Regions from separate parts of the Homo sapiens genome. Here region 2 is linked to region 1. The links are contacts of gene promoters, found by promoter capture Hi-C in blood cells and fetal thymus (Javierre and others, 2016). All regions are on one chromosome and are shown on one strand. The core of a region is centred on a gene start or on the middle of the fragment in contact, and the rest is flanking DNA. Distances in the headings are between cores, read along the strand shown. Region 1 holds the start of NUDT7 (nudix hydrolase 7). Region 2 has its middle 7.6 kb from the start of MON1B.

The links. The method cuts DNA at HindIII sites, captures the fragments that hold promoters and counts their contacts. A CHiCAGO score of 5 or more calls a contact.
Region 2: a fragment that was not itself captured here is called in contact with the fragment with the promoter of NUDT7 in region 1 in 1 of 17 cell types (non-activated CD4 T cells); the score reaches 5.6 in non-activated CD4 T cells.

The regions. Positions count from the first base shown.
Region 1 is chr16:77,719,224-77,723,763 of GRCh38, forward strand. It overlaps NUDT7 (nudix hydrolase 7), which reads left to right and starts at 3,291. Exons shown (of 4, transcript NM_001105663.3): 1 at 3,291-3,394. The coding sequence starts at 3,360. RefSeq lists an enhancer at 3,129-3,423 and a silencer at 3,137-3,266. The HindIII fragment of the contact is 15,416 bases long and covers 1-4,540 here.
Region 2 is chr16:77,181,294-77,185,948 of GRCh38, forward strand. No RefSeq gene overlaps it. Among named protein-coding and RNA genes, the nearest start is that of MON1B, 7.6 kb to the right of the region's middle. The HindIII fragment of the contact is 3,900 bases long and covers 774-4,655 here.

The DNA of each region.
Region 1 (4,540 bases), core at 2,041-4,540:
TCTGGATGTTGTCAATATCACAGTGATATTTCACTAATATCAGAGTGTGTAAACACAGGATATCGTAAATATCACAGCAATATTTCAGTGATGTCACAGTGTGTAAGCACTGTGTGTAAACACTGGATATTATGAATATCACAGCGATATTTCATTAGTATCACGGTGTGTAAACACTGGATATTATAAATATAACACCGATATTTCCTTAATATCATGATGTGTAAACACTAGATATTATAAATATTGCATCGATATTTCATTAATATCATGGCGTGTAAACACTATGTGTGAACACTGGATATTAGAAATATCACAACATTTCATTAATATCACGGTGTGCAAACACTGTGTGTAAACAATGGATATTATGAAAATCACAGCGATATTTCATTAATGTCACAGTGTGTAAGCACTGTGTGCAAACACTGGATATTATGAATATCATAGCGATATTTTATTAATATCGCAGTGTGTAAGCACTGTGTGGAAACACTGGATATTATGAATATCACAGCGATATTTCGTTAATGTCACAGTGCGTAAGCACTGTGTGTAAATACTGGATATTATGAATATCACAGTGATATTTCATTAACGTAACAGCGTGTAAGCACTGTGTAAACACTGGATATTATGAGTGTCACAGTGATATTTCATTAATTTCACACGGGATATTATAAAAATCACAACGATATTTAACATCATAGTGTGTAAACACTTTGTGTAAACATCGGGTATTATAAATATCACAGCGATGTTTCATCGGTATCACAGTTTGTAAACCTTGGATATTATAAACATCACAGCGATATTTCATTTATATCACGATGTGTAAACACTGGATACTATAAATATCACAGCGATGTTTGCTTAATATCACGGTGTGTAAACACTGTATATTACAAATATCACAGCCATATTTTATTAATATCACGGTGTGTACACACTGGATATTATAAATATCATATTGATATTTCATTGAGGTCATGGTGTGTAAACACTGGATGTTGTAAATATCTGTGATATTTCATTGATGTTATGGTGCATCAACACTTGATATTACAAATATCACAGAGACATTTCATTGATATCACAGTGTGGAAACACTGGGTATTATAAATATCACAGCGATATTATATTAATATCACGGTGTGTAAACATTGTATATTACAAATATCAGCCATATTTTATTAATATCACAGTGTGTAAACACTGGATATTATAAATATCACATCGATATTTCATTGATGTCACGGTGTGTAAACACTGGATGTTGTAAATATCACAGCGATATTTCATTAATATTTCATTTCATTAATAATTTCACAAACTGCCCCACTGACCTAGGGCCAGCCACAATATTACTTTCATGGGCCCTAGCTACTTTGTTTTTGTGCACCCCTTCTTCCATAAAATAATTTTAAAGTGAATATTTTATGACTGAATTCATAAAATGACTATCATCCAAGCTGGATTCATTATTATATATTGCTTTTATTACATACCTTTTCTTCTTCTAATTTAAAAAGAAATTACAATTAAAACATTTTCACAGGTCCCTAAAATTACTGTGTGTGTCCTGTGCCTGTAAGGGAGAAGTCAGCCCTACACTGACCCCTGGATTCTCAGCTCGCACCAGGCTCCCTCACACACACTGTTCTCCAGCCCCTTTCTGCTGTCTTTGCACAAACTTTGCCCTCTTCCTTGAACACTCTCCCTTGCCTTTTTCCTCATTTATGTCCTCTATCCCGCACAGAGCATCAGAATCCCCTTACAGCACAGATCACTGGGCCTGACACCTGGCTTCTGATTCAGCAGTTGTGACATGGGCCCCAAAGTCCACCTTTTCTTTTCTTTTCTTTTCTTTTCGTCTTTTTTCTTTTCTTTTCTTTTCTCTTTTCTTTCTTTCCTTTCTTTCTTTCTTGGTTTTTGTTGTTGTTGTTGTTGTTGTTTTGTTTTGTTTTGTTTTTGAGACAGAGTTTCGCTTTTTTTTGCCCAGGCTGGAGTGCAATGGCGCGATCTCGGCCCACTGCAAACTCCGCCTCCCAGGTTCAAGCGATTCTCCTGCCTCAGCCTCCTAGTAGCTGAGATTACAGGCGCCTGCCACTGGCTAATTTTTGTTTTTTTAGTAGAGATGGGGTTTCACCATGTTGGCCAAGCTGGTCTCAAACTCCTGACCTTAGGTGATCCACCCGACTTGGCCTCCCAAAGTGCTGGGATTACAGGTGTGAGCCACAGCGCCTGGCCCAGAGTCCACATTTTTAACAGGACCAAAGTGATCCTGATTCTGCTGGTCTGAGGACCACACTTTGAGAACTACTGCTTTCAAGATGAGCTGCACTTCTATTTCCTCTACCAAGCCTCTTCTGTCTCCTAATTGGGTCACATTTCTCCTTCACACGCTCTAGAAGGACCAAAGGCCACTGCTTTATCAGTGTGATTTTTTTTTTTTTTTTTTTTTGCATTAAAAACTTCTTATCTTCTTCTTCTTATTTTTGAGACGGTCTACCTCTGTCAGGCTGGAGTGCAGTGGTGCTATCACGGCTCACTGCAGCTTCGACCTCCTGGGCTCAAGCGATCCTCCCACCTCAGCCTCTTGAGTAGCTGGGACCACAGGTGTGTGCCACCACGCCTGGCTAATTTTTTATTTTTATTTTGTAGAGATGGGGTTTCGCCATGTTGCCCAGGCTGGGCTCGAACTCCTGGATTCAAGTGATCCTCCCCTCTTGGCCTCCCAAAGTGTTGGAATTACAAGCATATGCCACTGCATCCAGCCCTGTGTGATTAATTTATGTTTCTACCATTTGACTGTGAGCTCCACGTGTCTTTTCGCTAGCTGTGGGATCTGCACCCAGTGCATACAGGTGGTCGGTGAACAGGTGCTGACAGCAGTTCCAAAAAGTTGAATGAATCACCTTAACCTTCCAGCAACAGCGAATGCGAGTGTAAAATATTATCACCTCACCAACACTGTATTTTTTTTTTTTTTAACTCTTCCAGCTCTAAATTCCACAACTCCTCCTATACCTCTTGCTTCCATAGAAGCCCAAGGAGCCCGGCAGAAACTGCTTTGAGCAACCAGGAACACCCGGCCCTAAGTCCCGCCCCGCGCCTCTCCCCACCTCAAGTCCCGCCTCTGGCTATAAGCCCCGCCCCGCCCCGATCCCGGCCTCCGATCCCAGATCTCGCACCGCCCCGCCCCCTGTCTCCGCCCCAGACACCACCCCGCCTCGTGCTCTAAGCCCCGCCCCTCTCTCTGGCTTTAGGCCGCTCCCAAGCCCAGAGCTGCTCTGCGCAAGCGCGACCGACCGAGCAGCTCCGAGGAGTCCGCCCGGAAACAAACATTCCCCAGGGCAATGTCACGACTTGGTCTTCCCGAGGAGCCAGTCAGGTAAAGGCTTTCCGGGCCCTGGCACCCCGAGCTTGGTCAGGCCCGGCCTTGATCGTAGCGGAGGCCACCGGGGCCTTTTGGCCGGGACTGATTTTGCAGCTCCCGCCAGTCCACCTGCGAGCGCCGGATGGGGGAGCACTCGCCTCCAGCAACCCGCAGGGTCCCCGAACCTTTGCACTGCTCTGGCCAGGAACAGAGCCGGCTTAAGCCAGTATGGTTTACATACACGCTGCTCCCCTTCCCAGCCGGCTTGGCTGTTCTGCAATCCGCGTCTCCAGAGTTGGACCCCAGGACCCCCGACAGTGGCACAGACCCGCAGCAGGCAGCCCCGGATTCAAGTCCCCCGGTGGCTACTTTCAGTTGTGACCTTGGGTCTGTCAGTTTCGTAAACTCTCTGAGCCTGGAGGTGACCCTGTGATCACTTGCCGGGCTGTTGTGAGGATAAAATGAGAAACGTCAAAATTGAGACCATGCTCAGAACGGGGTGGCTGCTACTGCTGTTGATACCTTGGTGATTATTCCAGCGGCCAGCCCCTAAAGTGGACAGATAACGTTTTTGCAGCCTTTTACTTTGGCTGGTTTGTCTGGTCAGTTCTGTGGTTTCCGGGTGGTTAAAAGCCACCAGCCCACAGTTTCCTTTTCTGGAGGCTGGCCTGCGTGCATCCAGATGCACTGTGCAATCCCTGTGCCAGCATTCACTGATTTTTTTCAGGCCATTTGGTCTTTGAAATACACTGCCGTTACCCAACCACATCTGGTGAGCACCCTGCCACCTAGAAAGAGGCAAAAAATAGCAAATACCTCCTGCAAACAACTGCTTATCTAATGATGGGGAGATTTATGACAGTGGTTACCATTCCCTGAGCACCAGCTGTGTGCCAGCCACAGTATATGAACTGCATCATTTAATCTTCTTAAATATCCTCAAGCCTGACACAAATGAAGATGAAACTCAGAGAAGTCATTTGTATACACTTTTTTTTTTTTTTTTTTGAGACAGAGTCTCACTCTGCCGCCCTGGCTACAGTGCAGTAGGCAATCTCGGCTCACTGCAGCCTCTGCCTCCTGGGTTCAAGCGATTCTCCTGCCTCAACCTTCTGAGTAGCTGGGATTACAGGCATGTGCCACGATGCCCGGCTAATTTTT
Region 2 (4,655 bases), core at 1,474-3,973, 540 kb before region 1:
TCCTATTAAATATATTAGACGTATCAGATATTTCAGCTTCTCCCTTCAGTAACTTATAAAAATAAACAGAAAATTACTTAGTATTTAGAAAACATAAACAACACAATCAACATGATCAACAGCAGAATAACAATTATTTTCTTTTGCAAATGGAACATTCTCCAATAGGGATGATATTTTATGACATAAATTTCAAATATATAAAAGGATTCAAATAATCCAGACTACGCTGTCTAATCACAGAGAATTAAATCTATAACTGAAATTATTTGAAAATGTTCAGAAATTTACAAGTTAAACAGCACACTTCTGAATAACCCACAGAAAACAAAGAAGAAATCACAGAGGGAATTAGAATATATTTTGTACTGAATAAAAAACCAAAACATTTCAAAATTTGTGGAATAGGACTTAAAACAGTGTTGAGTACAATTTATAGCTTTAAATGCTTAAACTAGAAAAAGTAGAAAGATTTCATATTAGCAACCCTAAGATTGTCACATTAAGATGCTGGAAACGAAGTATATATTACAATGAAATTTAAGAAAAAGATAAATATGAGTACAAATCAAAGGAGAGAAAACTAGAGAATTTCAGTTAAACCAAAAGGTTATATTTTGAAAAGGGCAACCCACTAGGTTTATTAATCAAGGAGAAATTTGAAAAGGTGCAGATGACCGTTATCTGGAATAATAAAAGAATATCACTACAGATTTTACATACATAAAAGTAGAATAAAAAATTAAGAAAATTTTTATGCTAATTAATTTGAAAGCTTAGATGAATTGGGCAAATTTACCTTGAAAAATAAAAATTACCAAAAGAGGGCCAGATGCAGTGGTTCATGCCTGTAATCCCACACCTTGGGAGGCCGAGGCAGGTGGATCAGCTGAGGCCAGGAGTTCGAGACCAGCCTGGCCAACATCATGAAACCCTGTCCCTACTAAAAAATATTTTTTAAAAATTAGCCGGGCATCGTGGCAACTGCCTGTAGTCCTAGCTAGGAGGCTGAGGCAGGAGAATCGCTTGAACCTGGGAGGTGGAGGCTGCAGTGAGCCAAGATCACACCACCACACTCCACCACAGGTGGCAGAGCAAGACTCCATCTAAACAAACAAACAAAATTTAAAAAAAAAAAATTACCAAAATACACTCAAGAATAAATACAAAATTTCAATAGCATGGAAATCATTAAAGAAACAGACTTTGCATATTGAATTGGTTTTACAATGTAAATAGTTTGTTTAACTGAATTCAAATGAATACTTACGAAAGAAATAATACACTCACAAACACTTTAAGAAAATAAAAGAGAAATAGGCCAGGCACGGTGGCTCACACCTGTAATCCCAGCAGTTTGGGAGGTCGAGGCGGGCAGATCACGAGGTCAAGAGATCGAGACCATCCTGGCCAACATGGTGAAACCCCATCTCTACTAAAATACAAAAATTAGCTGGGCATGGTGGCACTGGCCTGTAGTCCCAGCTACTTGGGAGGCTGAGGCAGGAGAATCGCTTGAACCAGAGGTCAGAGTTTGCAGTGAGCCGAGATCGTGCCACTGCACTCCAATCTGGCGAAAGAGCCAGACTCTGTCTCAGAAAAAAATTTTACAAAAATAAAAAACCTCCCTGGTGATTCTTTGCTGAAGTCCTCCCTAGCCCCTGCACTAGACAAACACTGGTCTGCTTTCTATCAAAATACATTTGATTTTTTTTCTAGCATTTCTTACAAATGGAATCAAAAAGTGTGTACTTTTTTGTATCTGGCTGTTTTGCTCAGCAAAATACTTTAGAGATTCATGCTGTTGTTATACGTATCAATAGTTCAGTTGTTTTTATTGCTGAGTAGTATTATGAATATACCACAATTCATTGTCCATTATCTTCTTGTTGGATATTTGGAGCTTTTCTCCAGTTTTTATTTACTATAAAGAAAGTTGCTGTTAGCATGTGTGCAGAAATAATTTTGTGGGCATATGTTTCATGGTAAATACCTGAGAATAAAATGGGTGAGTCATGCAGTAAGAGTGTGTATTTATACCTCATAAGAATCTACCAAAGCATTTTTCAAAGTTGCACCATCTTGCATTCCTGCCAGCAATGGGGAAGAGTTTGTTTCTGCAAATTTCCTCGAGCAATTTGTATTGTAAGTTTTTCTTAAATATTAGCAATTCTAGCTAGTATGTGGTCAATTCTTACTCTAGATACAATGTGCCTTTTTAGGACTGATTATTATGGTAAGCATTTTTTCATGGACTTATTGGCCTTTTGTGTCTTATTTGATCAAGTTTCTGTTTAAATCTTTTTTATTGAATTGTTTGCTTTCATATTATTGAGTTTAATATGTCCTTTTAAAATTTTTGTATTATGGGTACAAGTTATTTGATGCGCACAGGTATTTTTTCAGTCTATTGCTTGCATTTTCATTTGCTAACACTGTCTTGAGCAGATTTTCATATTTTTCAAGTTCAGTTTCTCATTGTTTTGGTTGATGATTCATGATTTTGTGACAAAACGAATAAATCATTATATATACACCAAGATTGTAGAATTTTTCTTCTATGTTTTCCACAAGAAATACCATTTTAGCTTTTATGTTAAGCTGTATAATATACTGTAAATTAAATTTTTGTATGGTGTTATATAAGGGTTGCAGTTCATTTTCTCCATGTGAATGTCCACTGTTCCAATTCTATTTGTTGGTAAGATTAGCATCTCTTCAATTAATTAGATTGGTATCTTTGTTGAACCATACAGGTGTGGAGAAATCAGGACTGTGTGATTTGATAAATTGATCTATATATTTATATTTACATCAATACGTGATCTTTGTTACTTTAGCTTTACAGTAAATATTAAAATAATGTAGTTTAAGTCTATCTTTGTTCCTCAGAAACGTCTTGGCTATTCTAAAATACTGGCATTTTCATATCAAAATAATTTTGTAATTTGTCTTTACAAACCATTCTAGGTTTTATATTAGGATTATGTAAAATTCAGTAGATAATTTTAGGGAGAATTTATATTTTGATAATGAGAAGTTTCCAATTGTTGGACATAGTGAATATCTCAATTTACTAAATCTTCTAAGTTCCTCCAGAAAAAAAAAATGATTTTACAGTGGATAATTAAGGCATATGTATTATTATAATTATATAAGCATATATATCATTATAATTATTCCTAAGTATTTTAAGTTTTTATGCTATTGCATATGGTATTTATCTTTTAAGATTCCATATTCCTTTCCTTCATTAATTTTCTGTGTGTGTGTGTGTATGTATCTACCTGTATTATTGCTGTGTGTATATCCATATGTAATTGATTTTGGTATTCTTTAACCTTGTTACAGTCACATGTATATAACTTAAAATGTCTATATACAATGCCATATTGTTTCAGAATAAAAGAGATATTTTCATTACTAATATTTAGGGGTTTTTATTTATTTCTCTTTTTTTTCTATTTATACTAGCTTTAAATATGCAATGTAATCTTGAGCAAAAGTGACAATAACAGACATCCTTGACTTTCCCCTAATCTTAGGGAGAAAGTAGTCGGTCTTTCCCCATAAAGGCTAAAGTTAACTGCAGGTTTTTCTTCCATGTTCTCATCATCTTAAGTACATTTTCCTTTATTCCTAGTTGATAAGAATGTCTTTAATGAATAGTAATCAAATTTTGTGATATTCTTCTTCACTTTTGATATGTCAATATATTGAATTCAATAGTCTACAGATTTTTGAATCCATATTCTTGAAGAAATTTGACCTGCTTTTTCATTTTTATAATGTTTGCTATAGTTTTATTATTATGGTAATTATCAAATTATAAAGTTGAAAAGTTTTTCCCTTTTTTTGCTTTTCTGAACAAAATTATACAACATTTGTAATACTTGTTACTTAAATATTTGAATCCACCATTGATGTCATCTAGGCCTGGAATTTTTATGGGAAAACTTTTAATTATAAATCTAATTTACTTAGTGATATAGAGCCCTCAGGTTTGTTCCATTCCTTGTGAATAAATATTTGTATTGGCGTCTTTCAGTAATTTTTCCTCTATATTCTCAAAGTTTTTGCCATTAAAGTGCTCATAGTAGTTTCTTACTACCCATGTATGTCTATGCCATCTCTAATCATGTTACCTTCTTTCAGCCCTACTATTGGTAATTTGTCTCCTGTTTTATCATTTAAGCAAAAGTTTCAGTAATTTTATGGATCTTTTCGAAAAATATATATATTGTTGCATTGATTTTCTCTTTTGGTTGTATGTTTTCTGTCTCACCAAATTTCACTCTTATCTTTATTATTCCCTTACTTCTTAGTTACTTCAGGTTTAATTTCCTTCTTATTTTCCAGCTTCTTAAAGTTCACATGTAGACTATTGATTATAGGCATTTCTTCCTATGTACATAAGCATGTAGTTATACACTTTCTTATAAGCACTGCTTTGTATCTTCCAAATTATTTGTTGTGTCTTTATTTTCATTCAGTTCAAAATATTTTCTAATATTCCATCGAGATTTATTATTTGATCCACGTGTCAATATGAAGTGTGTTGTCTTAATTTTCAATAGAGATTTCACAGATATTTTTGTTAATAATTTCTATTTTAATTCTATTGTAATCGAAGAACACCTTCTTTATAATTTTAC